3 separate regions of the Homo sapiens genome follow, and regions 2 and 3 are each linked to region 1. The links are contacts of gene promoters, found by promoter capture Hi-C in human tissues and cell types (Jung and others, 2019). All regions are on one chromosome and are shown on one strand. The core of a region is centred on a gene start or on the middle of the fragment in contact, and the rest is flanking DNA. Distances in the headings are between cores, read along the strand shown.

Evidence for each region. The method cuts DNA at HindIII sites, captures the fragments that hold promoters and counts their contacts. A contact is called where the count stands out against the background at its distance.
Region 2: a fragment that was not itself captured here is called in contact with the fragment with the promoter of CCNJ in region 1 in 1 of the 25 tissues and cell types used here (liver).
Region 3: a contact is called between a fragment that was not itself captured here and the fragment with the promoter of CCNJ in region 1, in 1 of the 25 tissues and cell types used here (spleen).

The regions. Positions count from the first base shown.
Region 1 is chr10:96,042,282-96,045,831 of GRCh38, reverse strand. CCNJ (cyclin J) reads right to left here and starts at 2,249. Exons shown (of 6, transcript NM_001134375.2): 1 at 2,113-2,249; 2 at 1,370-1,479. The coding sequence starts at 1,438. The region is part of intron 2 of ENTPD1-AS1 (ENTPD1 antisense RNA 1); the gene reads left to right. RefSeq lists silencers at 1,969-2,538, 2,666-2,860. The HindIII fragment of the contact is 11,661 bases long and covers 1-3,550 here.
Region 2 is chr10:96,079,838-96,083,083 of GRCh38, reverse strand. The region is part of intron 2 of ENTPD1-AS1 (ENTPD1 antisense RNA 1); the gene reads left to right. Among named protein-coding and RNA genes, the nearest start is that of ENTPD1-AS1, 8.8 kb to the left of the region's middle. The HindIII fragment of the contact is 4,273 bases long and covers 1-3,246 here.
Region 3 is chr10:96,098,694-96,101,833 of GRCh38, reverse strand. No RefSeq gene overlaps it. Among named protein-coding and RNA genes, the nearest start is that of ENTPD1-AS1, 10 kb to the right of the region's middle. The HindIII fragment of the contact is 3,055 bases long and covers 1-2,896 here.

The DNA of each region.
Region 1 (3,550 bases), core at 1,000-3,499:
CTTAATATCAACTAATTAATTTCACTACATACCAGAGGGATAAAAAGGCTGACACTTAAAACACTTTTCAAAATATGTGCAACTATATTAATTTTTTTAAAAAAGAAAACATTTCACATTGAAAGATGACATCTGCCAAAAAAAAAAAAGATCAAAAGTGTATCTGGACAATTTTCCAAGAAACTGCAACTCTTTCCTAACTAACACTCCAGAGATCCCATTAGTTAGAATTTTTATGTGGTATAAACCATCTCCTAGGGGGCTGAACTGTATTTTAGTGAATCTAAGAGACTGAATGTCAGAATTAGTTAAGTAGCATTTAGAAATCTCAGGCCTAGAAAAGGGTAACAATTTAAGTCAGAATTAGGTTTTCCAATCTACTTGACCTGGTCAGAAACTCAAGATAAAAGTTCATTATCATTCCAGGATCTCAACCCCAAGAGTCAGAATCCTTTTTATTGAAAGTCAGCTGTTTTGCTTCTTTCTCAATTTTCTACATTTAACAAATGGCTTTCTTTATCCAAGGTGAAACTGAGTTAAGCTAGAGATCATTTTGGATCTGGTCTCTCTTTTGGTTATCGAAGAGGCAGAAATGTCTCATTAATCTGCCTTGCCACATGCAGAGTAAAACCGTTACTTAATAGCAACAATACACAGACTTTGCTTTGTGTTGGAAAAGTATTTTTTTCCAATATCTATTAAGTCTACTTTCTGCCTTTGATATCAGCAGGAAGGGGCAGCCAACTCCCTCCACTTTAGGGCTTTTGAACAGCCCAAATCCTGAGGGGTAAGTGATAAGAAGTTATCACTTAGTGCTTACTATATACCAAGAGCAGTTTCTAAGCACATGTACGGTACTAACTTAAGTTTCACAATCGCCAGAATCATAAGGCACACTCATTATTCCTCATTTTACAGATGAGGAAATCAAGAAACAGAAATTTCACTTGTCCACGTCTCACGGCAAGTTAGCGGAAAGGCTGAGGAATTTATGTACAAAAGCGACTTAAACTGGCTGCATGCAACGGCAACTCTCGAACAAAGAGGGCTGTTCTGCCCAACAAAAATTCAGTGTATATATCTTTTAAAATACAAGATCAAATTCATGACCCACCTGGAAGCCAGAACGCCCCTTTCCACCTTCCCTGGCCCAACTACCATCTCCCTACTCATTCAGGTTGCAGGTTCTTTTGATACATCCCAGAGAAGGAGCCAAGAAGTTAATTAACCTTGAGCAAATGAGCAAACTCGCCTTTTCTGGCCCGGAAGATAGTGAGTAAAGAACCTGACTAGACCTTCTAGAGAGCCGAGATTCAGAACAACTGGCGCGACACACAGAAGGAGAAGGCAGGCCGGGCCTCGGAGTTACCTTGTAGCGAAGCGCTTGGTGAATATCGGCGGCCAGCTGTCCTCGCCACCACTGCCCCTCCAGCTCCATGGGACCCGGCGGCGCGCCCAGCCCGACGCGGCAACTCGAGTCTGTAAGACACACCCCAGGCGCGGTCACTGCCGGCTCCCCCGCGACCCTCTGCGCCCCCTCCCCGGGGGGTGTGACCTCAGGCCACCCGGTGTGGCTGCTCATCTTCACTTGACTCTTCCTCAACCCAGCCCGACCCGAGTCGTTTCCCCCAACGCCACACGCGAAGCCGGGTCTGCCCCCGCAGGAAGAGCCGAAGGACTCTGAGACTCACTGCTCGACTATGTGTCGGGCAAAAGGGGATCCACTCGGGCCCTGAGTTGCCAAAGCGCGGAGCCAGGTGCGAGCTCGGGAAGAGCTGGGGGAGGCCCGGCTGGGGCTCCCTGCGTCCGGGGCTGGAGTTCTCCCGCCCTCCCTGAGGAGCGGGGAGAGGTGACACGCTCATAGCCCCGCTGAGGGGAAACGCTCCCATGGCAAAGCCCGGGGGTGAGCGTCTGCCTGGCCGCGGGTCTCCGCATGGACGTCGGGAGCCTGCTCCTCCCCGGGAGCCCCGAGAAACGCACGTTCCGCGCGGCCTCAGAAAGGGGAACAAAAGGCCGGGCCAGCCAGGCTCTGCGCCTCACCCCGGGAGGGTCCGCTGCCCCACGCCTACCCCAGGCCTGCCGGGCCGCCCGGCCCCACGCTGGCTCCCTTACCCGGAACCGCGGCCCTCACAGCCCCAGCCCCGCCGTCGTGCGGCGGACGCCGGCCCCGCTCATGCTGCGGACAGTGGGCCGCTAAGCGCCGGCCTCAGCTAGAGCCCAGCGCCTGGACGCTCGCGCCGCCCATTGTTAAAGGACCGGCAGGCGGCTCCGCATACAAAGCCAGCGCGGGGGCACTTGAGGCCCCGCCGCTGCCAATCTCGTCTCGCGATACAGCGGGGTCGCCCCGAGCCGTCCAATTGGCGGCCGGGCCGGGCCCAGGTGCAGCGCCAGGCGGCGGCGCGGCGGCTCCCGCCTGGGTACGGTCAGCATCCCGCACGGCGCGGCGTGGCCTGGGCTGGCCTGGCGCTTCGGTTGCCGGGGCGCTCAGCCGCCACCTACTGCGAAGCCGGCCTGATCGCCGGCTGAGGTCGGCAGAGAGCGCCGGAGAAATTGTAAGGTGGATCACTGCAGTGACCAATCCAGTTAGGCCACTCACCTGCTGAGAACCTTCGATGGCTCCTCGATGCCCGCGGAGCAAAGTTCCGACGCCTCAGTTTGGCGTTTAAAAGTCTTCACGGCATGGATTCGGTTTACCTTACTTCACGTTGCACCAACCGCTTCCATCCCAGGGGCTGCTCCGTGGATCATCAGGCCCTCCAAATGTGCTTTAGCTGTTTCTGCAGCCCCTGAAGCGTTTTTTTTTTCCTGTGAAATTATGCTCTTTTTTTAAGTTCCACCTCAAACTCCACCTTTCTTCTAGAAACCTAATTAATCTCTTCCCCCTCCTTATTTTCGTTGCTGTAGGGATTCCCAAGAGCTTTGAATGAAGACATTTAAGATTACTTCTAGTAACCTTGCTTGTCAAACCCATGGTGGATGTAATTAACCATCTGTGCTCGTAAATCAGGAAACTGCAAAACTGTGAGAACACTCCGACGTCAATTGAGGTGATATGGGGGCTGAAATGTGATTAGAGGAAACCTAATCAATTGTATTTTAACCTCTTTGGTGGATTATCACAAAAGAGGTGGATGGTAACCCTAGGACAGTGAGACTGTCCACTTTTCTGAGACTGGAGATCAATCTCTTAATAGTAAAACGTAAATATTTTTAAAACTTCACCCCTTTTACTTTGAATCCTTTGTCCAAAAAGATACATGATGATAAAGAACTACTACAAAGTGATAAATACATTTTATGTGATTCTGGGTGGCATCTTCATTTGAAGATCATCAGCAGACATGTATATGAGCCGTACCCTATCCATAGACGATGCTTATACCCAGGAGAGCAGGCCCGCAGGAACCAAAGGCAAGAAAAGGGAAACTCAGAAGCTGAAGTTGGCAGATCCCGGCCTAACCCGACATAGTCCAGGGAGAAGGCTGCCCTGGCCTGTCTCTCAGTTGCAGGGTCCTCTAGAGTGAAGGTAGACACATCAGGCTAAAAGCTT
Region 2 (3,246 bases), core at 472-2,971, 38 kb before region 1:
TAACCACTTATTTAGCCTGCGTTTCAAAACAGCTGTCTTCTCTGCTTCCCCACTTGGACTGCTGTACTGTTTTCAGGACAGAGTAGGTTTGGCTAGGTGGAGAGTGTTGAAAGCACTCATCTTAAACCTTGGCTATGTAACTAACCCTTTTGGTAGGCCTCTAGCCAAGCCAGAAAACAGATAAAGAGGGAAGTAACAGTGATTAGGTATTCAATGTCACCAGCTGCTTCTGGGTGTCTGTAGACAGAGGGAGAAGAAAAGCTAAAGAGAATAGGTATCAGTTTGGGGATTGAGTGTGATGTCACCTTTGCCTGATGACCTACTGAACATTAGAGACTGAACTGACTTAAAATTGGTAGAATAAGCATGAGAGAGTCCTCCATTTGTTTGTTTGTTGTTTTTAATTTTAGGTGAGTCTGAGTGATTATGTCATGTATATGTATGTCATGGCTGATGGGCTGAGGACCTCCATTGCCCTCTCCGAGGCTTGGCTCAGCTGGCCTGGAGAGATGTGCTAGGGAACATGCACCCTCTTGTTACCTTCCATCTCTATCTGTTTTGAGAAAACCACTCTAACTAGTCTTTGCTGTGGATTTCTCTCTCTAGATGTCCTTCCTTTTGTTCTGGATTTGTTGACGCTGACATTGTCACTTGAAGTGACAGGGTAAAGCTTTTGAGAGCTGATTGCTTCAGTTATTAGGTCACCTGTGGGACTCTCTAAGTACCGTCATGCATCACTTGACTGTGGTGATATGTTCTGAGAAATGTGTCATTAGGTGAATTCACCATCATGTTTATTTACACACACATAGGTGGTGTAGCCTACTACACACCTAGATTGTATGGTATAGCCTGTTACTCCTAAGCTACAACCCTGTGCAGCATGTTGCTGTACTAAATACTGGAGGCAATTGTAGCACAATGGTGAATATTTGCATTTCTAAACATATCTAAACATGGAAATGGCACAGTAAAAATACAATATAACAGTTGTTTTTGTTTTTTAATACACCTATATAGTGCAGCTCCATTTTAATCTTACGGGACCAGCAGTGTATATACTGTTCATTGTTGACTGAAACATTGTTATGTAGTGCATGATGACTGTAATTAATTTAGGGCTTTGTTTTGACAATGGTTTTGTTTGTTTGTTTGTTTGTTTTTGAGAAGAGTCTGGCTCTGTTGCCCAGGCTGGAGTGCAATGGCGCGATCTTGGCTCATGGCAACCTCCGCCTCCTGCGTTCAAGCGATTCTCCTGCCTCAGCCTCCTGAGTAGCTGGGGCCACAGGCGTGCACCACCACACTGGGCTAATTTTTGTATTTTTAGTAGGGACGGAGTTTCACCACATTGCCCAGGCTGGTCTTGAACTCCTGTTTTCAGGTGATCTGCCTGCCTCAGCCTCCCAAAGTGCTGGGATTACAGGTGTTAGCCATTGTGCCGGCCTTGACAATGGTTTTCATTTTCCTGTACACAAAAACTTTCCTGTCACCATTCTTAGTCCCTTAAAGAGGCAAACTTTTATTTTCTAGATATTTAAAATAATACCAATAACTTCCTATAATTTTCAGATTCACCATAATTTCTGCATGTGATACTCACATAAATGTATTTCCACCACAATTTTGAACGTGAATTTAAGTCACTCAACTTAATTCTCACTCACAAGAGATAAGGCAGCCTCTGGTGGCAGGGATTTTTCTTAGAAACCCCTTTCTGCTCGAAAGACTTCTTAGAGAAAAATCACACATTGGTGAAAACTAATAGCATGACATTTATGTTCATGACTTTGCCTGGCAATTCTTCTCTTTCCCATTCTCCACAGGAGCTGTTTTAAACTTCTGCTGACCTTAGACCCTTCCCTATGTGCTCACTAGATCTCCTACTTTTTCATTCTCAGCAGATTATTTTACCTCCCGTTTTCTCAGAGAAAACAGAAAACATAAGATGGCAACTTTAGCAAATTAGTGCGACCAAACCTTCAAACTTACTTCATTGATAAACCATTTTTGTTCTTTTTTTGTTTGTTTGTTTGTCCTTTTCTCCTTGCACAGTGGAAAAGGTGGTCCTCTTCTGGTCCAAGCCTCTGGATCTCTTCCCATTCATTCCTACTCTTTAGGATTTTTCTCGTTTACTTAGCTATGGCTCCTTCCCACTGGCATTTAGGCATTCTCACATCTTTTCTGTCTTAGAAGAAAAAAATAAAACCATCCTACACCAATTTGCCGCTCTCTCTTCTGTTTCATACCTCTCTGTCCACAGACAAGTGTTCATGAAAAAGTTGTCTTTACTCACTGTTTATTTCCGTGAACTTCCTGTTTATTCTTCAACCAACTGCAACATTTTATCTCAACTGAAATTACCAGTTTTAAAGGTCACTAACTACCACTTCATTTCTAAATCCACTGGGTATTTCTCAGACCCTATCTGACTTGACCTCTGTTCAGTCCAGTGTGACAGTTTATCCACTTTCTTCTTGAAATCTTCTTTTACTTGGGCTTCACTGACACCAGTGTTTCCTAGTATTAAATAATTTACTTCTGTGGTCATTCTTTTGAATGTCTTTAGAGCTTTGCCTTCATTCATTCTCTCATCCTTTTATTTGTGTATTTATAAAGCATTTATTACATGCCAGGCAGCATACTAAGTATTGGAGACTGAGAATCTGAAGCAATACCTGGACTCTTTCTTCAGAAAAATATACTCCCAAACAAACACTGAAAATTTGGCATACATTTTCAAGCCTCTCACACAGTGTTAAATACATGCATATCACTCTAGAATCTTGCTTCAGGGCCTCCGAATTATCTTAGCAGAAAGTTGTTTTTTTTTTTTTTGAGATGGAGTCTCGCTCTGTCACCCAGGCTGGAGTGCAATGGCACAGTCTTGGCTCACTGCAACCTCCGCCTCCTGGGCTCAAACGATTCTGCTGTCTCAGCCTCCCAAGGAGCTGGGATTACAGGCATGTGTCATCACGCCCAGGTGATTTTTGTATTTTTAGTAGAGACAGGGTTTCACCATGTTGCCCAGGTTGGTCTTGAACTCCTGACCTCAGGTGATCCACCCGCCTCAGCCTCCCAGAGTGCTGGGATTACAGGTATGAGCCACCATGCCTGGCCAGAAACTTTTATAGAAATATTTTTTAAAACTGCCCCAAGAGGCTTAAATTTTCTTTTAAAGCCCATGGAAAGTGAAAATGAAAACAGTTTTTCCCAGAAAAAGATTTTGCTACCGTTGGAAATTTTCTT
Region 3 (3,140 bases), core at 120-2,619, 57 kb before region 1:
ATTCTGCATAGGTATGGATCTAGATAAAATTTGGGGCTCTGTGCGCATAGAAGGGGAAAGAGGATACTGGGGGACAACTGGCAGTCTCAAGAAACATGGTAGTCATTTCCATATTATATACACAAGGTAAATGAAGCCCAGAGAAGTAGACTAATTTGCCCAATGATGCATAATTACTGCCACAGAGCCAGGATGAAGTCCAAATATATGCAGCTCTGCAATCCTACCCTGAAACATAAATCTAGAGTTAATAAGTAATAACAAGTGTTGGGTAACCCCAACACTTTGGCAGACTAAGTCAGGAGGATCACTTGAGCCCAGGAGTTCAAGACTAGCCTGGGCAACACAGGGAGATCTCGCCTTTACAAAAAATTAAAAATTAGCGGGGCACGGTGGTGCGTGCCTGTAGTTCCAATTACTCAGGAGGCTGAGGTGGGAGGATCACTTGAGCCTGGGAGGTAGAAGCTCTAGTGAGCCATGATTGTACCACTGCACTCTAGCCTGGGCAACAAGAGTGAGACCCTGTCTTAAAAAAATATGTAAATGTGCTTCTCCTTAAACTCAACTGTTCCTCTGGAATTTAGTCTAAAAATACCAGTACAAATGTGCAAACACATATAGGATCTACATGAGGGAGTCACTTCTGCAGACTTTAAATTGGAAACTAGTGTCATAAATAAGGGTGGAGGGTAAGGTGGCAGATACATGGAAATTGAAGAGTCAGCAGTAGCAGTATCATTATTGGTGCAAGCAATAGCATATATACCAGCAAGCACAGTAGTGATGTTCCCACTAGACCAGTTCCACAGTGTGATTTTGGGAATTTGCCTTGGTAGGCCAGTCTCCAAGATGGTTCTTTGCCATCCCAGAGATTCTGTGAGTTGCTAAGCATCTTTCAATAAATTCTCTTCCTGCTTAAACTGTTATATTGGTTTCCATTGATTGCAAGGAGAAGTCTAACTGATACACTGGCCACCTCTAGACCAGTTCCACAGTGTGATTTTTGGGAATTTGTCTTGGTAGGCCAGTATCCAAGATGGTTCTTTGCCATCCCGGAGATTCTGTGAGCTGCCAAGTGTCTTTCAATAAATTATCTTCCTGCTTAAACTGTTATATTGGTTTCCACTGATTGCAAGAAGTCTAACACATACACTGGCCACCTCTCTTTTCCTCCAAACTGCCAAGTTGTTACCGCCTTAGGATCTTTGCTTTCCATGTTCGTCTGCCTTGATCACACAGGGCCCATTTCTTTGTATCATTCAGGATTTAGGCCAAATATCACCCACCTTGCAGCAGAAACGACCCAGATCCTCCTCCTTTTTTTTTTCTTTTTATTATTATTATTTTTTTTTAAGACGGAGTCTCGCTCTGTCGCCCAGGCTGGAGTGCAGTGGCGCGATCTCAGCTCACTGCAAGCTTCGCCTCCCGGTTTTTTTTTTTTTTTTTTTAAAGAGACAGGGTTTCCTTCTGTAGCTCAGGCTGGGGTGGCACGATCATGGTTCGCTATAGTCTCCATCTCCTGGGCCGGGCCTCAAACAATTCTCCCACCTCAGCCTCCTGAACTCCTGAATATCTGGGACTAGAGGAGCATGCCATCATGCCCAGCTAATTTTTTTATTTTTAAATTTTGGAGAGACAGAGTCTTGCTATGTTGTCCAGGTTGTTCTCAAACTCCTGCACTCAAGTGATCCTCCCCGCTTAGCTCCTCAAGCACTGGGACTCCATTGGTGTGAGCCACTGCTTACCTCCCCAGGTCCCCTTCTGAAGAAGTTCTACACCCACATCTTTCCCTTTGTATGAAATCTCCCTGTTTTATTTGTCTTCACAGAACTTATCACTAGATGAAATTATTTAGTTCACATGTATTTGTTTTCTTGTTTATTTCTTCCCCTTTCTACCAACAGAAGCTTGAAAAATTACTTGCCAAGAAAATTGTCTGGCACGTAATATGGGCAATATATTTCTATTGAATTAACAAAGAAGCAAAGAATTTTATATCTTTGTTTTGTAATACCACTAAATTGGGAACATCTTTTGAATATCTATCAATAGGAAATTAGTTATACAGATAGGGGTACAACCATACAACACATCTACTAAAAAGGTAAAAGTGTATTTTCTGTATCTTGACACAGAATTCTGCAATATAACGCTGAGTGAAACAGTGATGAAAGTAGTTTATAAATATATAATTTCACATGTGTAATATACATAGAAAGAACACGGAAAGATATTAAGAACACTGTGGTGAGAAGTTAATACTATAATGAGAACAGTAAGGTAGAAGGAGAGGAGAAAATCCTGCTTTTTGCTTGATAATTTTTTGTATTTTTTTTTGCAACAATCATGTATGCATTGAAACTTCCTTATGGTTGCAAACAAACTAGGCTGAAAATATAAATTTACTGAAAAAATATCAAGGTATGATATTCTTCATAATGAAATGAAGGGTTGAATACACAGTTACTGAAAGGGTACACGTAACACTGGGTCTCAGGAGATCCCAGAAACAGTGATATAAAAATTTTCAGATTTCTTCCCATCAATCTCCTATCTCAGCTTCTCTTTACATGTCAGCTTTATCTCACTGCAAAAAATTTTTTGTCCTGATAGTAAAGAATGTTATTGTTTCTAAGTCTTCCATGTGATCTCATCTACCCTCATTTCTCTACCAGTTGAGAAAGACTAATCTGTCTTTTCCAGGCCCAGATTGAAAAATCCCAAACTTTTGGCTGGGCACCATGGCTTAAGCCTATAACCCCAGCACTTTGGGAGGCTGAGGTGGGCAGATTGCTTGAGTCCAGGAGTTTGAGGCCAGCCTGGGCAACATGGCAAAACCCCATCTCTACAAAAAATACAAAAAAATTAGCTGAGTGTGGTGATGCAACCTGTAGTCCCAGCTACTCAGGAAGCTGAGATGGGAGAATCATCTGAGTCTGAGAGTTTGAGGCTGCAGCAATTGCACCACTGCACTTCAGCCTGGGTGACAAAGTAAGACCCTATCTGAAAAAAAGAAAGAAAAGAAAAGAAAGAGAAAAGAGAAGGATTCAAGCAATTCTCTTGCTTCAGCCTCCCGAGTAGCTGGGACTACAGGCATGTGCCACCACACCTGGCTAAATTTTTTTTTGTATTTTTAGTAG